Regions from separate parts of the Homo sapiens genome. Here region 1 is linked to region 2. Evidence: promoter capture Hi-C in human tissues and cell types (Jung and others, 2019). All regions are on one chromosome and are shown on one strand. The core of a region is centred on a gene start or on the middle of the fragment in contact, and the rest is flanking DNA. Distances in the headings are between cores, read along the strand shown. Region 1 overlaps FBXO32 (F-box protein 32). Region 2 holds the start of FAM91A1 (family with sequence similarity 91 member A1).

Region 1 (3,954 bases), core at 37-2,536, 260 kb after region 2:
AAAGTACCAGGATTACAGGCATGAGCCACTGAGCCCAGCCTCCACACAGAAGCTCAACTCTGCAGAGGAAAGAGAAATTGAGAGAGAGAGAAAGAAAAAAGACTTAATTACTTCAGTCTGGACTGTATTTTAAAACTTACTTTTTTAACAGTTTGGCCCAAAGAAAAGTACATTATTATAGGCAAATATAAAGTCAACTTTCAGAGTAAATGCTTTCTATTTTGCCAAAGTTCTGTCAGTCTCCTTCCAGCATAAAATTTTGTTTTCCTGCAAAATTTTTATATCTAATTCTATGGAGCCAATTTTTATTGGCAAAATAATTAATATAATAAAGAATGAAGGAAACAAATTAAGAGAACTGGGTCTTGGGGAAAAAATCAAATACAGTGACAGTATGCGGTGGGCAGGGCACTGTTTTGAAGCATGTGAGGAGTGACATAGACCCTAGTGGATGTTAGCCAAATGCTTGACTAGAGGAGCGAGAGTGACTAATTTTTCTTTTATACGTTTATATTCGAAAGGAAGAGGCATGTAAGCAGTTAACCACTTATCAGGAGGAAGGGCTTAGCATGGGGTCTGGGCAAGGATTTTGGAAAAGTTCAGGTTTGAAAATTTGACAGAGTGAACCCTGCCAAGTGGACTTGCCTTTAATAGGAGTTAATGTAATAATTGGCCTGGGAGTTTTAACCAAAAAAGTAGAGGCTTTGAAGTGTTGGAAACGAAAAGAAAATCTCATGGCAGTTTTATTAGCTCATATGATCAGCAGGAGATGATAAACGATAAATAGGTCTAGGGCCTTCTGCGGTTGGCAAAGACCTGAAGTTTGCAAACAATTGAGAGCTCTGCCCAGCAGCCTGGGGTAGAACCGAGCGGTATAAATTGTCAAGTCATAGATACTTTGAATGAAATAGGAGGCTGAAGTCCTTCTACATCTGAGATTGTTGGAGCTGGAAGGGATCTTCAGAGTCTTCTAAGCCATTCATTTTGGACATGGGGAGACTTCCCAGGGGAGCTGGGATCCAGATGTGCTGCCTGTCCATCCATGTTGCTCCCCTGCACCTCCCATTCTTCTCCATAGCTTAGCCTTCCCAAGGCCCCTTGCCACTGCTCCCTCCCCACCTCGTGCCTACCCTGCCTTGCTGGGGACACAGGAGAGAACTGCCCAGACCTAGTGTCTCCTGGAATCCTCCATGTGTTTAGGCTTCGATGTGCTTTGTACAGAGTTTGGCTCCTGTAAAAATTTGGGCAGGGAAATTGATACCCATTCTCAGGATATTTTCCCCTGAGCTAAGGAAGGGTTTCTTCATCCTGTATTATTTTTCCCCTGTGACCTCTCAGAGGTCACAGAACATTGATGGAAAAATGTGAGTAGTCCAAAATCAAGAGCTCACCCAGAACCAGCAGGGGCAGGACAAGGAACCGCAGTCCCAGGTGGTCTATTGACTTATCTGGATGGCAGCATCCTGTTGCTGTTCAAGACACATCAGCAAATACATATGCGGATTCCCAGGTGCAGATTCTTCCCACAGCGCTTTGTGCTTCCCTCCATGACAGCGTTTACTGTATTATTTCATATTATTTTATGATTATTTGTTTCTGCCTCTGGGTCTCTCACCAGCCTGAAGAGCTCAGTGCAGCCACTTCAGCACCAGGCCATAGTAGGCACTCAGGAGAGGTGGCTTGTGCTGGGCTAGTCTACAAGGGACATAAAATTAGACCCTGCCTTCAAGGATGTAGATCTGGGCAGGGTATCATGAGCTCATCAAAATTTAAAACAATAAAGGCTTAAATATATTAATAAGTTCAGGGATGTACCAGAAGCTCTTGGAGAAGCTCGCCATTAATTGCCAAGGTATCATCCACAGACCAGCAGTTTTCACAATGCTCCACGGAGGCCTCGGTTGAAATAGAGAAGTCTCAAGGGATGGTGGAGCTTGGGCCAAAGGCTTCTGGACCTGCCATTCCCAATGTGCACGTACACACACACACACACACACACACACACACACACACACACACCCTAGCACAGAGTCTCTGTGTTATTGTTTTCTACCTATTTAATTATTTGGGCTTCATTCATTCCACAGGTATTTGTTGAGCACCTTCTGTGTGCTGGGCACTCTTGTAGACACCCTGGACACAGTAGTGAAAAAAGATTAAAATTCCTTCCTTCATAGAGCTTAAGTTCCAGCAAGAATGTTCCTTTCAAAGTTTCTTTTAGAAAAAAAGCTCATGTTGCATGACAAAAAGAAGGATATTGCAAAATGTGTCTCAAAGAGATCCTAAGAATTCTAGGAAGGTGCAGTGAGTAAGGGAGTCACAAAAACAGAAAAGGCCTTTCAGAGGAAGTAGGTTTGAACTGGATCTGAGCAGGATGACCACGTGGCCGGGCAGAGAAGACTGGGGAGGCGAAGGCATTGAGGTCAGGCTGAGCCAGGTGTGTTTAGGTGCCAGTGAGTAAACCTACTTGGAGGGACCTGATGTCTGGAGGGGGGCCAGAGAGATGGGACTTGGGGTGGCAGGCTGGGCCACTCCATCCAGGGCAGTGAGGCCTTCAGGAAAGCAGCGAACCTTGTAATTGTGTGAACTGAGTAAAGCACATGCGCTATTTGGAGAGTCTTTAAGAGTGAAAGTTTCAAGCTTTGGAAATGTAGGGCGATCCCTCTGGCACCACTCAGCTCAGCGCACTCCACACTTCATTGAGGGTCATGGCCATGGTCTCCTGTCTGCATTTAGGATGGGGAGATTTACTACTGCTTTCGACCTCTTATCAATAAACTGCCTTGAGGGTGGAGGACGGGCACAGCTGCATGCCTGGAGGGTGTGGCCTGGTGAATCGCTGCTCTCTGGCCCCCCCACCTATTGTCACCCTTCTCTCTGCAGCCTGCCTTCAAAGGCCTCACCTTCACTGACCTGCCTTTGTGCCTACAACTGAACATCATGCAGAGGCTGAGCGACGGGCGGGACCTGGTCAGCCTGGGCCAGGCTGCCCCCGACCTGCACGTGCTCAGCGAAGACCGGCTGCTGTGGAAGAAACTCTGCCAGTACCACTTCTCCGAGCGGCAGGTCAGCAAGGCCCAGTGGGCTTTCCTCCCACCCTCCTTCTCTGGCCCTCACCCCAAACTTCCTTGGTGCCCTGCTCAAGCCTGAGGTCTGGGTTCCCCCTATTCCAGGTTCCCTGGTTTGACTGAAAAATGACAGTTGAAGGAGTTTTGTGATTTTGTTTTTTGAGACAGGGTCTCGCTCTGTGGCCCAGGCTGGAGTGCAGTGATGCAATCATAGCTCACTGTAACCTCAGCCACTTGGGCTCAAGCAACCCTCCCACCTCAGCCTCCCGAGTAGCTGGGACTACAGGCTCATGCCACAACACCCGGATAATTTTTTTATTATTGTTTTTGTAGAAATAGGGTCTCTCTATGTTGCCCAGGCTGACCTCAAACTCCTGGCCTCAAGCAGTCCTCCTGCCTCGGCACCCCCAAAGCTCTGGGATTACAGGCATGAGTCCCCATGCCCACCCTGTCTGAGTTTTTAAATAGAGATGTTGTGTGTGTGTGTGTTTCAGGTAGTTTTTATGGAAAAAATTAAACTTACATTCTTAACCTATTCTCATTTTACAACTCACTCAAAAAAATCATAAATTGGCACCCATCCTTTTTTTCTATAACACAATAACTTACATTTTCTGAGTGCTTTACAGTACTTTTTGTTTTGTTTTGTTTTTTGAGATGGAATCTCACTGTGTCACCCAGGCTGGAGTACAGTGGTGCAGTTTCAGCTCACTGCAACCTCTGCCTCCCTGGTTCAAATGATTCTCCTGCCTCAGCCTCCCAAGTAGCTGGGATTACAGGTGCACACCGCCATGCCTGGCTAATTTTTGTATTTTTAGTAGAGACAGGGTTTCACCACGTTGGCCAGGCTGGTCTTGAACTCCTGACCTCAGGTGATCCGCCTGCC
Region 2 (3,893 bases), core at 1,163-3,662:
CCAACCTTATCCTAAGCTAAAATAGCCACTGTTTTTCAAGTGATTTTAAAAACAAAAACATACTTAATTTCACATTTAGACCTAATTTTAACTGTCCCATGATTATTTTTAAATAGTCATGACTACGTTTTAGAAACTCTTTTGCCAATACTAATTAAAGTCAAATATTCATGTTGGATATAATCTCATCACTCATCTTTCTTCCAGTATGCTACATTTATTCTGATGAAAAGAGTAGAGAAAAAATGGAAACAAAGAAAAGAAGAACTGTTTGTTCTTCTTGTGTCTTTGGATTTGCCACAAAACCCTAAAGTACAAAAGTGTCCTTTAAAGCCTTTATTCAAGATTAACAAAAGAAATTTATTCCTTCAGGTTTAGAGCTTTGTTCTCCCAGTTTAAGATAAATGCCACACGGGCAGCCACTGACACCCAAGAATTCAAGTTCTTTAAATTTATCTTTCTCGGTTTTTGCTATATTAAAGTGAAAGCATTTTCTTGGCCACATGATGCATGACCAGAACCTTAATATTCACTTCCTGGCACTAAATCCCCAAGGGAGGAAGGGAGCAAAGTAAACTAAACTATAACAATCCTCATACTGGCTGGGCACTGTGGCTCACGCCTGTAATCCCAGCACTTTGGAAGGCCGAGACGGGCGGATCATGAGGTCAAGATATCGAGACCAGCCTGGCCAACATGATGAAACCCCGTCTCTACTAAAAATACAAAAATTAGCTGGGCGTGGTGGCGCGCACCTGTAGTACCAGCTACTCGGGAGGCTGAGGCAGGAGAATCGCTTGAACCCAAGAAGCAGAGTTTGCAGTGAGCGGAGATCACACCACTGCACTCCAGCCTGGGCAACAGGAGACTCTGTCTCAAAGAAATGAAAATAAAAATAAAAATAAATAAATAATCCTTATATACCATCACCGCCACCATTCCAAACTTCCCAAAAATGCCACTGCCGAGTGCCAACAGAAAACTGAATTTCACTCTCGACCAAGTATAATGGGAGGAAGCGAAGGTCAATCTATGACCAGAGCAGCAGTGCGTTATCTGTAGCCCATATCACTACTTTCGTAAGACTTAAAACCATCTGCTATGTTACGTATTTATTCATTTATTTGTTTACGTCTTTCTTTAGTAAAATGTAAGCTCCATGAAGGCAGTCTTTGTCTTGTTGACTGTTGCAAATTACCTGCACCTAGAGCAACGCACAGCACCTAGTAGGTGGTCAATAAATATCTATTAAACAATTGAGTAAAACAGACTAAAAAAATCGAGAATTAACTTTCAAAAACCTCATGTCACTCTTGTTGAAACATCTCTGATAAACCCATCTTGTCTGGAGGATAAAGTCCAACAAAACAAAGCACACAAGCACCTTCAAAATCTGGCCCTGACCACTTTTCCAGGCTCATCTGCTACCAGCCCCGCGCACTCAAAAAACTTCAACTCCAAACATGTCAGTCCAAACTCTGGTGATACAGTCACTTGCTACTCATGAGACATGTTCTTTCACTCATCCAAGCTTTGTAAAATGACTTTCCCTCCCCCTGGAAAAATCTTTATTCCCTCTTATTTAACTCTTATTCGTCCTCCAAGGCCCAATTTAAGTGCCTGCCTTAAAAATCCTTCCAACTCTCCCAGGATAATTTCTCCCTCCCTCTGCTCTCACATATACTACAATGCAGGTGTGTATGAGCTGCTATCATCCTGTATCGTATTCATTTGTTTCCCATCCCTTTCCCACCATCCTGAAATTCCGGAGGTCAAGGACCGTGTTTAAAATCTCTATCGCAGGTGCCTGGCTGAATGTATCCTGCGGGCAAAGGCGCCAGTCGAGTCCTGTGGACACCATGCCATCCCATTTAGCGATCGCCCCGTCCTGGCCCTGTGGCCCCACAGCCGTCCCCTCCTCGCCCTGGGCTGAAGGTCCGTCTCCCCAAGACCACGGAGGAGTAAAGGAAGGGAGTCAGCCGGCAGCAGCCCGCTCGGGCCCCGCGAGCGAGGCAAGCAGGTGACCGCTGGGCGGGCCGAATCCGTCAGGGGCCCGGTCCCAGGTTCCGGCCGTACCTGTCTCACGTTGGCCGGCAACTTGTTCCAGGGGTAGTTGTGCCGGATGTGGAACTCCACGTCTATGTTCATGATGCCGCGGCCAGGGCCGGCGGCCGGGGCCGCCACCGCGACCCACACTACGCCTCCCGCCTGCCCGCCCGCAGCCTGTCAGCGGAGCGACGCGGGAGGCCCCGCGCCTCACACTGCAGAAGGCCCAGGCTGCCCCATGGCCTAGGCTCCCGACAGTTCAGCGCCGCCCGGGCCAACCGAGTACAAGAGCAGCAGCGATTGGAGGCTGGATCGCCTGAACAGCTCCAAGTTTCTTCCTAGTTTCGGGCCGCCGGAAATGGCTCTGGGCACACGTCACTTCCGCCCGCTGGCGCGCGGCCGGAGGGGCGGGGCACGGACTGGCCTCTAGCCACGCCCTCTACAGGCTGCGGGGCGGGGCGACGACGAGGTACCGGGAGGTGCCCGGGTGAGCGTTCCCCGCCCGCGCGCTTCGTCTCCCCGTTTCAGTCTCTGAATGAACGGCGATAGTCGCTTGGGTCTGCGTTGCCGTTGCTGATGACCCAGTTTACTCAAATTGTAAAGCCGGAGGCACTGGGGTCGGTTTTCAGAGAAAAGCGACCTGGGAAGCGGGCCGGCAGTGGCTGGCTTTACATTGGAGTGCGGTGCGCTCGCGGGGGTTCTCCACAGGCCAGCCCGGAACCCGGGCCAGTGAGACGGGGCGGGGGGTTGCGGGGACGGGTCCAGGGCCCTGGAGAAAGAAATAATCTCTAAGTCAGGTCTCGCACCGGGTTGAGCGAGAAGCATGGGCAGTGGGAGAGCAAAGGTCTGGTAAGCCCTCTTCCCTTCCGCGGTGTGCTGCACGTCATTGGGCTCCACTTCCCAAGAAGATCCAAATTCTTACAATGCAGGGATTCAGGGAGCTGAAATTTTAAACAGTGGTGCTGACAGGTCGAGGCAGCCTACAGGGCTGACAGAGAGATACCCTTGCCAACTTTGTCATGCAGCCTGTCGGTTTCTGCTTTATTCTGCTCCACACAAATGCCTCCAGAGTCACTTAAAAGCAAAAATCCAGCATGTCTTAATTTCAGATTGAGTGATAAGGTCTTTGGGAATAATTTCTTTCAGAAGTTGTTACGCTGCCTTAGCAAACCCGTGACCATTATTCCTGGCAGCAACCAGAGACAAGTTCAGTGTTATTGCAACTGTTTTTCAGTTTTTAACAATGGTTTTAAATAATGTTTTATTATATACTGGGAGATGTATACTTAGAACTTTTTATAAGATACCTAGCTCACACCTCAACAGCTGGCAAGTCTGATGCTTAGCAGAAACCCCATTATGTCTGATGAAATAAAGGTGACAAGTACACACTGCCCTTGCTTAGATGTTTTGGTCTCCTATTATCCAACTATAATAACCCAAAGATAAGTGCTTTGAACCTTATGTTTACAGATCCTCATCAGCATAGCTAAGGTTAACTGAACTCTAACCGTGAGACATTTATTCAACAAATATTGATTACCTGCCCGCCATGTATTAAGGCCTTGACTTGACAATAGATTATTCCTCACAACCCTGATATTCCTACAACAGTAACCACTTACTATCCCAGTTTGATAGAGGAGGAGACTGAGGCTTGGCAGGGCTTCATGACTTGCTCGCAAGATCACACAGGTAGCACTGACAGAGCCAAACTGGAGCCGAAGGCTATCCTCACTCCAGAGCCATCCTTTCAGTTCCCCAACTCAGGCTCTCACTCACTGAACTCTTCTACCTCCTGTTCCAATTTAGACAATGTTCATTCAAAGTCAACGACATAAACATCC

The links. Contacts are between HindIII fragments. The study calls those that stand out against the background at their distance.
Region 1: a contact is called between a fragment that was not itself captured here and the fragment with the promoter of FAM91A1 in region 2, in 2 of the 25 tissues and cell types used here (dorsolateral prefrontal cortex and hippocampus).

The regions. Positions count from the first base shown.
Region 1 is chr8:123,505,504-123,509,457 of GRCh38, reverse strand. It overlaps FBXO32 (F-box protein 32), which reads left to right. Exons shown (of 9, transcript NM_058229.4): 7 at 2,884-3,066. Among named protein-coding and RNA genes, the nearest start is that of FBXO32, 34 kb to the left of the region's middle. RefSeq lists an enhancer at 2,429-2,973. The HindIII fragment of the contact is 4,582 bases long and covers 1-3,577 here.
Region 2 is chr8:123,766,958-123,770,850 of GRCh38, reverse strand. FAM91A1 (family with sequence similarity 91 member A1) reads right to left here and starts at 2,412. Exons shown (of 24, transcript NM_144963.4): 1 at 2,077-2,412. The coding sequence starts at 2,148. RefSeq lists silencers at 459-508, 2,077-2,226. The HindIII fragment of the contact is 9,142 bases long and covers 79-3,893 here.